Regions from separate parts of the Homo sapiens genome. Here regions 2, 3 and 4 are each linked to region 1. The links are contacts of gene promoters, found by promoter capture Hi-C in human tissues and cell types (Jung and others, 2019). All regions are on one chromosome and are shown on one strand. The core of a region is centred on a gene start or on the middle of the fragment in contact, and the rest is flanking DNA. Distances in the headings are between cores, read along the strand shown.

Region 1 (3,276 bases), core at 432-2,931:
TCAAATGGCTAAAATTGTATTTAATAGTTTTACGACTATTATATACTTAAATATATAGTGCAGATTCACATATTGAGGATTTATCAGTGAGCTTTAGAAGGTGGTCCTGGCTCAGATGAGTTTGGGAAATGCCAGGTTAAACAAACCAAACAGGTTTCTTTACTCCTGGACTTCACAGAGGCCTTCCTTAATATACGAATACTTATCGTGATTCTCCAAAAGGTACACTATAAACGGCATGCAGCACTTTCTCAAGTTGCCCACAGAAGCCCATTTTCAAAAAATAAATATTAAATTCTCTGGGGACTCGTGTTCTAGGTTAGTCATCTGCAGTTCTTTTTGGTATTGTCTGTTGGATTTTGGTATCAGGGTTATGCTAAACTTGGGAAATGAAATAAAAATTTTTGTTTCTTTTGTTTATTTTTTCCTGTGTAACAGTTTAAGTAACATAGGGATGATCTGTGCCCTGATGGGAGGATAAGGCTTGCTGTAAAGCCATCTGAACCCATGGCATTTCTGAGTAGTGAAGACACTGGGAATGCACACGTGCATGGCTTCCCTACAGGATGTTTCCCCCGACAGCCCATTCTGCTTGGCACCCTTCTCTTTAGGATCAAACAGCTATTATGGAAAAGCCTAGAATGTGTGAAAATGAGACTCAATGCATTAGCAAATCAATGCTGATCACTCCTGCATGGTCCTCAAGTCCTAACGAATGCTCCAGCCTCCTGGCAGGAAACCTTTCAAATCTTGCACACGCTGGCCTCTGCCTGGGGTGCCTGGCTGGGCGGTGTGGGGGGCATGGTTGGTTAAGGCGCAGAGTCCGCCTTTCCTACCAGCCACTCTAGCTGAGGGTCAAGCTCTGGACCCTCCCCCAACCATCCAGCTCCATTTTATCCTTGGCTTATGCCTTCCCCAAGTACTGCAGGGTAGGACTCCTGCTAAAAACTTCTTCTAGATGCTTGCCTGAGGCTGGCCCCATAAACCTGATTCTAGGCTTCTGGGGATAAATCATCTAACTAATATAAGAGAATTGCTAGGCAATTGGGGTTAGTTTGAGACGACTGGCTGAGCTCACCTTAGGTGAGCTGGGGGGTGGGGGAAGATGAGCTGAAGGATTCTAGGGTTCAGTGAAGCCTAGAATGGCTGGGTGGGCGGAGAGTCCTTAGAAGGGTCCAACTTCTAGCCTGAGGGCCTGGGGGCTTCCAGGGATCTGCAGCCGAGCGGAAGACCGGTCTTGCGTACAGCGAGGCCTACGAGAGCTAAGTGGGCTGAGGGTCCCTGGAAAAGACCAGCCTGGGGGCGGGGACCATCGATGCCCCAGGCTCTAGAGGCCGTGGGCTCCCGGGGGCCTGAGGCTGGACTGGGGTCGCCGGCGGGCTCGGGGAGGCCCGGGTGGGCGCACCGGGGCCCTGCCTGCGGCTGACGGGCTGGGTCGAGGGGGAGGCTGGGGAGGCGGGGTGCCGGCCGGGGCGGCGGCGCGGGCTCGGGACGCCAGGGCTCCCTCTCCCTCCTCCCGCCCGAGCCAGCCTCGGGCGCCGGGCGCCTCCCCCGATCCTGAACCAGCGCCAGCGCCGGGAGGCCCGGAGCCCGGCCCGCCGCCGCGGCCCGCGGAGGGAGCCGCCGCCGCCACTGCCGTTGTCGCCGCCGCCGCCAGGCCGCGCCCCGCCCCTCCGCCGCCGCCGCCGCCGCCGCCGCTCTCGGTGAGGCTCGCGCTCGAGCTGCGGCGCCGGCTCCTGCCGCCTGGGCCCCGGGCCCGGCCCCTCCCGCGCCGCCCGGGCGATGAGAAGCTGCTTCTGCGTGAGACGGAGCCGGGACCCGCCGCCGCCGCAGCCACCGCCGCCGCCGCCCCAGCGGGGAACAGTTAAGTGAGGCCCGGGCGCCGCGGAGGCTCGGCGGAGCCGGCCCTGCAGCCGGGAGGGCGGGCGGGCGGGCGCGGGCCCCCGGCCGAGGGGCGGGCGGACGGGAGGAGCCGGGCCGCGCCGAGGCCTGCGGGCTCCGTGCCCGGCCCGCGGCGGGGACAGGCCCGGGCGGCCTTTGCAGAGCCCCGAGCGCGCCGCGGCTGCCGGTGCCCGGGCTCGGCCTGGCGGCGAGAGGCGGGAGAAGCTGGGGGACCCGAGTGCCAGCAGCGCCCCCAAGGCCCGGGCAGGTGAGGGGCGCCGAGAGCCACCTCTGCCCGCGTGAGAGGGAGGCGGCCCACCTGGGCACAGACTGGGAACAGTCAATCGTTTGACCGGCCTGGCCTGGGGTCCTGCTCTCTCTGGTCACGTGGGTGCAGACCAACGTGCACCTGCCCCAGGAGCATCACTGCCTCTGTGACCTGGGCACAGCAGAGAGGACACCTAAACCCTCAGGCACCTGTCTGGAAGGTGACATGCCCAGCCTGGGTACCCGAGACCCAGAGCACCCATCCAGGAACATGGTGGGCACGTCGAGCACCCTACAGTGACTCCAACACCAGCGAGACGGGAGGAGCAGGGGCTGGGACAAGAGCTGAGGCATGGCACCAGGGGACATCACATCCTCAGAGGCAGGCACCAGGGAACGGGGTAGACCCAAGAGCATCTTTTGTCCTCTTTGTTACCAACACACAACTGTTCTAAATCAGCAGCCCTTCTCACCATGAAAGATGAGACTCTTCTGTTCCCTGCCCCTCAACACCTCTTGCACAAGGCACTGAGGAAGACCACAGGAGGGCAAAAGGCAAATGGTGGTTGCCCCTTCCCTGCTTCCTGCCCCCACCCAAGAACCAGAGCCCACTCCGATTGCTGCCACAAAAGCAGACAGCAGACCAGCTCCTCTTAGGGGCCTTTGTCTCTCGTGGTTCCTTCTCAGTATAATCTCATTGTACATTTCTCGACAGCTGGCTGGATCTCATCTCGTTTTAACAGGGCTGGGAAATCTTATCAGCGGCACCAGGAAAGCTTAGAGAGTTAAAAAATAAGCTCTGTGAAGCCTTGACTAACTGAAAAACTCAATGTGCTAGGATGTTTAGTTACAGTAGATGGTGACACCTTTCTTGCTTGTTAGAAATCATGTGGGGTCCTTGGAGATACTGTACCATGCTCAGAATCTTTAAATAGGGCCTCAGAGAGATGAGGCTTCTGCTTGGGACCCGGGCTCCAAGCCCCATGGGAAGCAGTTGACGTGGCGATTACTGGTTCATTTAAACCTAAACTTACCTTCTGTAATCCATATTTTTCATTCCTTCCTTCTAGGCTTTAGGTCACACTCCTAATTTAGGTTCAAGGCATTTTTCTTGCCCTGTCTCCATCC
Region 2 (3,276 bases), core at 381-2,880, 840 kb before region 1:
CAAAAGTAATCCACATTCCTTGAAGAATCTCTGTCCTTTCCAAGATTCCCAAAACGTCTTCTTTACTGCCTCTCACCCTGCGCCCCACAGCCTCCATGTGGGATTTCACTCGTTCCCCATAGCAACCCTGAGCCATTGGTACTGATATTCCCATTCACGCAGGATAGAATTGAGGCTCAGAAAGATTAAGACACTTGCTTAAGGTTACATGGCTGTCTATTGATAGACATAGCTGTCTACTGACAGAGCCCCCACTGGCTCAGGGGGCACCTGCTAGTGCTTGAGTGTGACAGTCTCATCACTGGCCTCCTGGTCACCAGGCTCTTCCTCTGCAGTCCAGCCGCCACAGGCTTTCTGATCCATTTTTCTAAAGGTTGGATCATTCATTCATTCACCAAATGCTCAGAGAGCACCCTGTGCATGCTAAGTACTCTGATATGTGACACTGGAGACAGATAAGAAGCCTGGTGCTCAAAAATCTTCCCTGGCTCCACGGCCTCCTGAATGAAGAACACTTTTTTAGCCAGGCAATCGGGGCAGCCCATAATGTGCCTGAAACATACCAATATTCTTCTCACTTCTCACACATGCCTTCTCTCAGCCCTCTCAAACCCCTCAGACTGCACAGTGCTTCAGGCTTTTATAATTCTGGGCCTTTGCTCATGTGCTGCCCTTGGCCTAGAACAACCCTCTCATCCTCACCCAGACCTGTTGAAATCCCTCCACCCCTCCCTAGGCTAGCTCAAACTCTACCTCTCCTGTGAAATCTTTTCTGATGGTTCTTCTGGAAGTGAATTCCATAAAAGTTGGCTTATACTGGACCCTGGAGCCCGACAGCTGCGGCCGCAACTCCTAGCTCTGCCTCTAATTTGCTGTATGATCTTGGGCAAGTGACTTTATCTCTCTGAATTTCAGTTTTTGCCATTCACATCCAAATTTAGGTAAAGAATATGTATGCTTCATAAGAGCAGTGACTATTTTTCTTCTAGTGTCAGGGTGGATTATATTCAGCCGTGTGCTAGAATTGCTTAGTGGTTGCTCTGTCCTAATCTGGAAGCTTTGTGAAGGTCAGGAAAGTTTCTTACTCATTTTTATATCTTCTGCAAGCAGTAAAGGCAACTGGTATGCTCTCACTAAATTGTGCTAGATAAATAATAGCTAGTATACATGAGTGCTTACCATGTGCCAGGCTTGGTGTTAAGCATTTCACACGTTACTGCATTGAAGGTCTTATAATTTTCCATATTACAGATGAGAACTCTGAGGCTTTGGGAGGCTGTCACATGCCAAGGTTACACTAAGCAAAGTTAAACTATCTCTCAGTCCCTGGACTTTGAAATGTGGACTTCTGCAGATGCAGCTGTTGGTGCCATCACCAGTGCAGGGGGTAGAATGGGTTGGGAGGGGAGGAGCCTGTCTCGCAGGGGCTGACCACAGTAGGGTGCTCTAGGCCTCGTGTTGAGCACTCAGAGACAGTTCCACAGGGAAACCTAGGGAGAACTCTAGGGGGAATGGAAAACTCTAGATTTGGGTATAAAACTGGAAAATTTTGTAACAAACTGGTAGCCTGACAATGATATGCTTTTCCTTCCCACAGTTACTGCTTACGGGGCAAGTATTTTAAGTCAAAGTTGGTGTCTGATGCTTTCACAGTGAAATCATTTATTAGGAAATTTGTGTTCTATTTGCAAACACTACAGTAATTCCCAACCTGGACCATCCCAGCACCCACAATAGTACTTTCCTTCAGTAAGGACATGACCTCGCCCTTCACTGAGTGCCTCTGGCAGAATCCCATCTCAGAGCCTCTTGCACATGCTGTCCTCTCTGCCCAGGTCACCCTTCTCCCCATCTCATTCTCTCCCGGCCCCTCCCTGTTTTCCTACTGAAGAGCAGAGCACCAGTGACACTCCAGGGAAGCCTTCCCTGGCCGCAAGCCCCCGGCACTAGTTTGGCTCCTTCTGTCCCCGTATCCTGCATTTTTCTTCAGAACAGTTATCACAGGGAGTAATTGCCTGTCTCTGCCATTAGACTATAACCCCAAGAACACAGGGACTGCTTTCTCACCACTGCAACTCAGACACTGCCAGTGCTACCACTCAGAGGATAAAGCAGAGCTCAATAAACATGTACTGAACGAATACCAGGTGCCATGTCCACAGGAAGGTGAGGGTCAAAGAGACAGAGTGACTTAACCAACATTGCACCTCCAGGACACTGCAGAGCTTCACTCCACATCTGCAAGGGCCACTGGGTAGCCCCTTTCCTTTCTTTGCAGCACCTATGATTTTGGACAGAGATGCCATGATCCTGATTACCACTCTCTCCTGGGTAATACTGAGGCTGGTTAGGATTTGGAGTTTCAAATAATCATTCACTTTTTCCAGTCATTTTTACTGAAACATAACTGCCAAAACATGTTTTATTTCTATTTTAGAACTTCTTATACATGAGAATTGCAGAGAATTTTGGTAAAATATTAAAATCATTTAATGTTTTAAAAATCATTTCAAGTCATCTTTTCTGAGAAAATGCTATTATTAGATACAATTTAGCTCTGAGCTCAAGAACTTCTGTTTGCTTTACTAATTAGTGTTTTCTAAATATTGCAGGTATTTGATTTGGAAAGAGGTAACAGCTCATTATGCTAAAATGCCAATTACTAAAAAAAAAAAAAAAAAACCCACACTTAAGATTTTTACATTTTATGATGTTGGATTAAAACCAATTTAAAAATTACTATAACGTGACATATAATTTTTTACTGAGCAATTTCAATGCCAGCTGCTAATAAAGCATCTTAGCTATAAATGATAATTCAGATGCTTTTAGATAAAGTGGTGCATAAATATGGCTGGAAATTGATTTAGCTTCTTACAGAAGCTACTGAAGAATGACATATTTTGTTTAATACACCAGCTAATGTAGTCCTAAAAGCTCAAACAAGTGCCAGTTTTCACTCCTAAATTTGCTGTGGGAGATTAATGAAAACTTTATATTTTGCTGAAATGTTAATAATGGGCAGATGAGATGATAGGATTTTAGTAGAGGTCTTAAAGCTATGAAATAACCAGCAAGGCTTGTCAATATCCTTGTATTAATTTTGTACAAGACTTACATAGCTGGAGCTGGCTCAACACAGTAATGCTTCTTGCATTGACCTTCTACTCTCTGATAGCGTAAATTCATATCCCATTTGAGGATTTAAGTCCCCCCGATACCTGGGGGAGTTCTGAGCCTTGCCCCAACTGACAAGGGGCATGTCTGTGTTTATGA
Region 3 (3,276 bases), core at 296-2,795, 570 kb before region 1:
AGTAAAGGCGGCTGTCTGGGTAGAGGCATCTTCCTGCTAGCCTCTCTAAGCTCGAGAGGGATGGGATTTAAGTACTGAGTGATTGATGGGGGTGAAGCTCTTTCTCTTCTTTCCATTCTCCCCTACTACCCATAGCTTCACCTCACTCTCCAAAACTAGTCTTAGAATGAGACAGGGACTCAGAATCCTCAATTCGAAATAAAACAGCTGTGTAGACATTAGTGTTACCAAAGCAAAGAAAGCGGGGCTGCAAATTCCAAGCCCCCCCACTCCTGCTTCCATAGTCGGTCATGCTTTAGAAACATGAACTTATAAAAGAAACATTGTAGAATATATGTATATTGCATAAATATTTTTTAAAAATCATTTTATTTAATCTAATAATACCTAAAAATTAATTCTTTGTAATTTAGAGAAAGTTTACCTAGTCATTTATGAATAGAAACCAGAAACATTATGTTGATGACTCTATTCTGCTTAATGAAGGGGGTTGAGGGTGAACTGTCATTTCAGTGGATAATGTCATTTCAGTTGTGCTTTTCTTCTAAAACAAAACAAAATCATTTTAAAAAAAATCTGTTTATTTGTAGCTCTGCCAGTGGATTTTGAGGTTTCTGATCAGGCAGTGAACACTGCCAGTTCTTATGCACATGGGGGATTTAGTTTAGAAAACATCTGTTTCCCCCTCTACCATATATGAAAAGGTATTTTTCCCTTCTGACAGATAAATGGGTAATCTACTACAATTATATTATTTTCTTGTTGAGAGGTAAGGAAAGTATACTTCTACTATAAGATGCTGCTTTTTCTTGAGAATATATTCTTTCGTAAAATTGATCATACCATTATTTTTGGGCAGAAATGTCTCTCATTGTTGAATTGTGATATTTGTGCATTTTGAGAGCACCCAAAAAGTTGTAGGCTTTAAAATAAAAATAGTTGTTTATTTTAAACCAAGTAACCAGTGAGATTATTGTTGATATGTTAAGATTTTTCTCCTGATTTTTAAAGCCATATTTTATCATCTGTCTCTTATTAAATATCCCTGATGCCACAAGGTCTGCTCACCTGCATACCTCTTTTGGTGTATGCCCCCACCTCTTTTTGGTCATCTTAATCTTAATTGTTGAAGTGCTTTCCTTTGTGAAATATTTCATCCTGAAAAATCTTGTCTTCTTTCCAAAGCCCTTAATTGTGCGAGTTTAAGTGAAGGAAATAGTTCTTTTTCAAGAAAAAAATATTTATTTTTTAAATGAAATCCCACATTTTAGTAGATAATATGAATCACATTATTGTGAAAAATGTTATGCATGAAAAAAAATAAACACAACCTTTTCCTTTTCAAATAATAGGTTAAAATACTCCATGTTGATGGCTGCCAACCAAACTCTGATTTATTGCCACCACAAACCCTAAATAGCGTTCATTTACTAGTAATGTCTAATGGCATACATGATGGTTTGCCAGATTTGTAGCCTTTGTGAGGCTTATAAGTAGGACTGACTTGGGAAGATCATAAAACTTAATGAACTTCTCTACTGCAGGAGGTGTCCGCAGGGGAAGAGAAAGGCCTGCTTGGTTGGTTGGGCTGGTTGAAGTATTTTTTATGTTTAAGGAGAAGAAAATGACTAGTAAAAATGCCTTACTTTTAAAGGAACCCTCCCTAGAAAGAGTCATAAGAATTTTAGATATTAAAACTAGATCAAGAGTATAGTTTACAAGTGAGGTTTTATGTGCATTTAGTATATGATGTGAGATTAAACCTTTTATCTTTATTGCTAGAAGTGTGACTAGCTTTCAAAGAGACAAGGCAGTACTGTCATTCGACACCTCTCTATTTAATTGTGAACCCACAGGTTTAGAGACTCTTTGGAGTCTTTTTTTGGTGTGCTTCTCTTTTTAAGGTTTCAATATAAAAATCTGTTACATTTTTCTTTGTACAGTGCTGTGTGATTCTTTTAATTCTACATATGTAAAAATCAATTTTTTCAAGTGAAAATTTAGCAAGAAAGGTGAAAATTGTTATATATTAGTCTAAATGTTATTATATATTTTGCATATGCTTTTAAGTTGCTCTTGCACTATTTCCAATATAATTATCATCTTTTGTTTCAAGTTTTAAAAACAAATGCACTGTTCCATACATGATTCCTTTTTGTGTTTTCATGAAACACATTTTGTTTTAATGAACTTATTTTCAAGATTTTAACAACTTTTTATTGTGGACACCTTTGAAACATAACATGCAGAGAGCAGAGACTCTTGAACCTCCCATGAACTCAGTGCCCATCTTCAGCAATTAGCAATACTTGGCCAGTCGTGTTTTCTCTGTAATTCCCACCATTCCAAAATTATTTTGAAGCAAATTTTAATGGTTCTTTAATGTTTTAAGTTTCATATCAATTTTAAGCATTAGGTCTGCTTATATTGGAAATATTAAGTGATTAAACAGGAAAAATACAAAGTCAGAGTATCTTGGAAATGTTATAAATTATATTGCTTTATCAATATATTTTTCTTAACTTAATATTTTACCTTTTTTTTTTTCTATTTTTATAGATTTGGTATCTTACTGGAGCTTTTGTAGGAGGTTTTCAGAGAAGTTGTAAAAGAAAGGGATTTTTCTACTTCTTTATTCTTCCATTTCCATCCTAACAAAATAGCACATATAATACATTTGTAGAAAACCTGGAGAAAAATCTCATTGCCAAGCTGGTTTAGAACCTCATGATCTAAAGTATCATGTGGATATTATCTTTAAAATATAGAGACATTTTCCAATCCTGTTCTTTATTTTTTTCTTCCCAATAAAAATGTATTGAACTCTCTTGTCAATACTAACTTGATCTGTGCAAGTAATTCTTTTGTTCCTTAGTTTTAATGACCCTCATTTTATTACAGATTTGAATAGTTTTGGTATTTTATTTGGGACTTTACTATGTTATTTTATTAATTTACATAATTTTATTCTGAATTAGAAGTCTTTTAATACACTAGCAAAGGAGGCCCCGACTTGCCCCAAAGAGCACACTGGTTGATCGGCTTTCATAAAATGTACTTGTCTACATTTTTCATACTATGATGCTTTTCCTTTTAATTAATTTTGCCTGTATATTTCCATCTCAATTTATAAATTTTGTAAAAGGTTACTTCTGAGGCAAATTTAAATTAACGTATTAGTTGGATTATTTATATTTTGATACTTTATAGTGGCATGGTATAGGATGAAGTTACATTATATGAAGTGGGACTATAAGAATTGAAACTGCATTTCGT
Region 4 (3,276 bases), core at 457-2,956, 560 kb before region 1:
TATAGTTTTTTGTTCTTTTAGACTTACTTGACTTCTCTGTGTTACAGTCATTGTTGAACTGTTTACTTCCTATTTTGAATCAACCACTGATGTGTTGCTGTCGCTCATCAGGTGGAAAGACCTGGAAAATTATATTTTATATTCACTTGCTTTTTAACTGTAACCCTTAACAGCATTTTGAAACAGTTAAAAAACAAAACCCCAATTATTTATAATGGAAAGCCATTGGAAGTAATTTTGTCATGGATTCTCTTAGTTGCAGGTGACCGGTGAATTTGGCGAATGCTAAGTGGTGAGTTAGGCTGATATGTATGTCTAAATCTCATCATTAAACCAATGGCATTAAACCAACTGCCAAGTATTTTGCTTCATGAAAACCATTAAGACATGGAAAGCTCATAACTATTTGGCTGGTGAATAGTTTATTCTGATTTTGTCCTTATTCTTAAAAAGTCATGTAATTCAAAAATCTGCCCTTTCTTCCATGTAATAGTTAATATCTGTTCATACCACCATTCACAGGTATCTATGCTTGTGGTACTCCAGAAAGCTGTAGTGCAGGAAATCTGTTTTTAGTGTAGTTTCCTATGTGAAAGTGATAAAAGCAGTGGACCCACTGCTCACTTTCTAGAAAAGTGCACATACTCATACAAGTTTAAATACAGTTTCAGGGAGTTTATAGACACCTTGAATATCATTCATGGATCCCTCATGGATACCATGGACCTTGGGTTAACAATAGCTTTGTAGAGGTAGACTTTTTAAAAAACTACATTTTATCCAAATTTGTAACTGCAATCCACTTTCTTCTGAGAAGCCTAGTGGATCTGCTTTCTACCCAGTGGTTCTACAAACACTCAGACCACCAGTCGTTTCTGAGTGTAGTGAATCTTTGAGTGTATTGAGGGGAAAGAATCAGAAAAATGGAATAGAACAATTACATGAAAGGCAGGAGCAGGCTAGCAATGAGACTCAGGTGCTAGTAGGACTAGAGAAAAAGGCTGGCGGCCGGTGGGACGGGGAGAGGGGAGTTTAGAAGAGGGAAATCTGAAATTAGAGACATGGGTTGTTGAAGGAACTTATTTGGTAATTAGCATATATTACCTTGCAAGAATGATACAAAAAAAAAATTACTGGTTTATGACCTAGATGATATAAGGTCCTTGGGGGTGGTGGGGGGCAAGTTTGTCTTTTTGGTAACTGTTTTGTTATTTCATGTTGCTTTATAGGGATTTAATTTCTGCTATGTGATAGAATTCTTTTAAGATACATGCCATCCTTGTGTATATAAAATAAGTAGATGATTTATTGGGTTAGAATCTGTATTTAATTTGTTAAACTTTCCTATGTAAAGACTTTTGAAGAGAATATCTGTGTCATTTATTCTCAAACTTTTTGATCTTAGGACTCCTTTATACTCCTAAAATAAGTTTTGTTTATGCGGGTTTAATCTCTATTTATTGTATGAACAATCGAAACAAATTCTTAAAACGTTAAGTTAATTTAAAAATTAAAATCATAAATCGATTATGTTAGCATAAATAACATTATTACAATTATCAGCTTGTTATATGTTATCCTAAACAGCATTTTCTGAAACAAAACTAAGCAAAACTAAATGATAAGAAGAATAGTATTGTTTTACACTTTTGCAAATCTTTTAAATGTCAGACTTAATGGAAGACAACTGGATTCTCATATCTGCCTTTGCATTCAGTCTGTCATCATATGGTTGATGTATATGAAGAAATATCTGGCCTCATACAGATACCTAATTGGAAAAGGAAAGAGTATTACCACCAAACTTATCAGGACAGTTTTTTTAAGTGCTGGGAAGATTTCATACTCACAGTGGAGGACACAGTGTTTCAAAATTCTAATTTTTGCTTGAAAGCATGAATTTTATTATTAGCGCCAAAACTGTTTATTGTTTTACTTGAAGTATAGGTTTACTTGGTTTCTTTTTGAAAAAAGGTCTGCCAAAATAAGCTGAAATAACCATAATTTGTTAATTTTTTTTTAAGCAGCTAGTTCAGCTTGCAACTCACAGTTATGCAAGTGCTTTCCTCACACTTGGCATGCAGCCTAAGTGCTTTGTGGAGAATTTGTATTTTGTCACAGAATATTAAAAAGACACAGTGAAGGTGTGATTGAGTTAATAATTTTTACTGTTTCATCAAGGACATTGTGAAGTGAAACTGGCCTTTAAAAAAAAATTTAAGTGCCTAGTGGTAAAGAATACATTGTTAGTATAGTGTGGTGCCGCTGTCTTGCTTTGTGCAATGGCGCCAGCAGTTTTATCCACCTTTGCTTTGTGCACCATCAGTATAAATGTCAACACAGTGAAAAAGACCAATATCTTATTACTGTGAAAATAATTTTAAGTTTGTGGACTCCTGAAAGGGTCTCAGGGACCACCAGGGGTCCACGGACACCATTTCAGAACTACAAGTCTGTGTAAAGTGAAATGCTTATGTAATATAATTTGCTCTGAGAGCATTATTTTATTTTCATCTGTAATATCTATACAGAAAGATTACCTTACCTGGAAAGAAACAGGTTTTTAGTATGCTGATCCTAAAGGCAACAGAATATATCGTGAAGCCATTAGCGTGATCCTCTTAGCGTATTTGTTAAGTGCCTACACAAGTATGGTATTCTGCTGAATATTCTTCAGTGTGGAAACAGCTTTTGCCCTTAGAAGGCAGACCCTGTAGTCAGTCTTGACTGCACACATAAAGGGAAAAAAAGGATAGATCAACAGATCACATTTTGTTGGATCATAGTTTTCCATACAGAACTAGTGTAAGCTTCCTGGGGTTCCTGGGTAAGTCCTAGAGTGATTATTTACAAAATAAGGAAGTAGGACGAGGAGATTTCTAAGGCTTTATTCAGTTTAATATTCTGATTCTTTGACTTTTTTTTAAACTGAGTGAATTGTTTATTAATTAGCTCTTAACCACTTATTAATTTATTTAAGCTCAACTGGTTATGTATAATTTGTATTTGTTGCTATCACATTGGTTAAGCATTAATGTTATTTTGCAGTATTGAAAAACGGAATGTATAGAAGAGGAAATGGAAGGGAATTGTAAATGAAGAAGGCTTCTACAAGCAAGTGAATTTTAAGTGGCAAGGAAGAAGAAATTTGGATGGTGGGGGGGATGTACATTGCAGTGTATTTAACATATTTCTGAATTCAGAGTCTTTATAGCCTATGCTATAATAGCAGAGAAGGAAAATTTGAGTTCAGAAATAACAGTAAAGCCTGTAAGT

The links. The method cuts DNA at HindIII sites, captures the fragments that hold promoters and counts their contacts. A contact is called where the count stands out against the background at its distance.
Region 2: a contact is called between a fragment that was not itself captured here and the fragment with the promoter of MVB12B in region 1, in 1 of the 25 tissues and cell types used here (lymphoblastoid cells).
Region 3: a fragment that was not itself captured here is called in contact with the fragment with the promoter of MVB12B in region 1 in 2 of the 25 tissues and cell types used here (dorsolateral prefrontal cortex and hippocampus).
Region 4: a contact is called between a fragment that was not itself captured here and the fragment with the promoter of MVB12B in region 1, in 2 of the 25 tissues and cell types used here (heart left ventricle and mesendoderm cells).

Annotation. Positions count from the first base shown.
Region 1 is chr9:126,325,148-126,328,423 of GRCh38, forward strand. It overlaps MVB12B (multivesicular body subunit 12B), which reads left to right and starts at 1,682. Exons shown (of 10, transcript NM_033446.3): 1 at 1,682-1,863. The coding sequence starts at 1,783. RefSeq lists a silencer at 1,667-1,806 and an enhancer at 2,248-2,899. The HindIII fragment of the contact is 8,205 bases long and covers 1-3,276 here.
Region 2 is chr9:125,484,952-125,488,227 of GRCh38, forward strand. The region is part of intron 8 of MAPKAP1 (MAPK associated protein 1); the gene reads right to left. Among named protein-coding and RNA genes, the nearest start is that of MAPKAP1, 220 kb to the right of the region's middle. The HindIII fragment of the contact is 3,100 bases long and covers 81-3,180 here.
Region 3 is chr9:125,750,750-125,754,025 of GRCh38, forward strand. All of the region lies in intron 2 of PBX3 (PBX homeobox 3), which reads left to right. Among named protein-coding and RNA genes, the nearest start is that of PBX3, 5.0 kb to the left of the region's middle. The HindIII fragment of the contact is 5,452 bases long and covers 1-3,276 here.
Region 4 is chr9:125,766,959-125,770,234 of GRCh38, forward strand. All of the region lies in intron 2 of PBX3 (PBX homeobox 3), which reads left to right. Among named protein-coding and RNA genes, the nearest start is that of PBX3, 21 kb to the left of the region's middle. The HindIII fragment of the contact is 8,625 bases long and covers 1-3,276 here.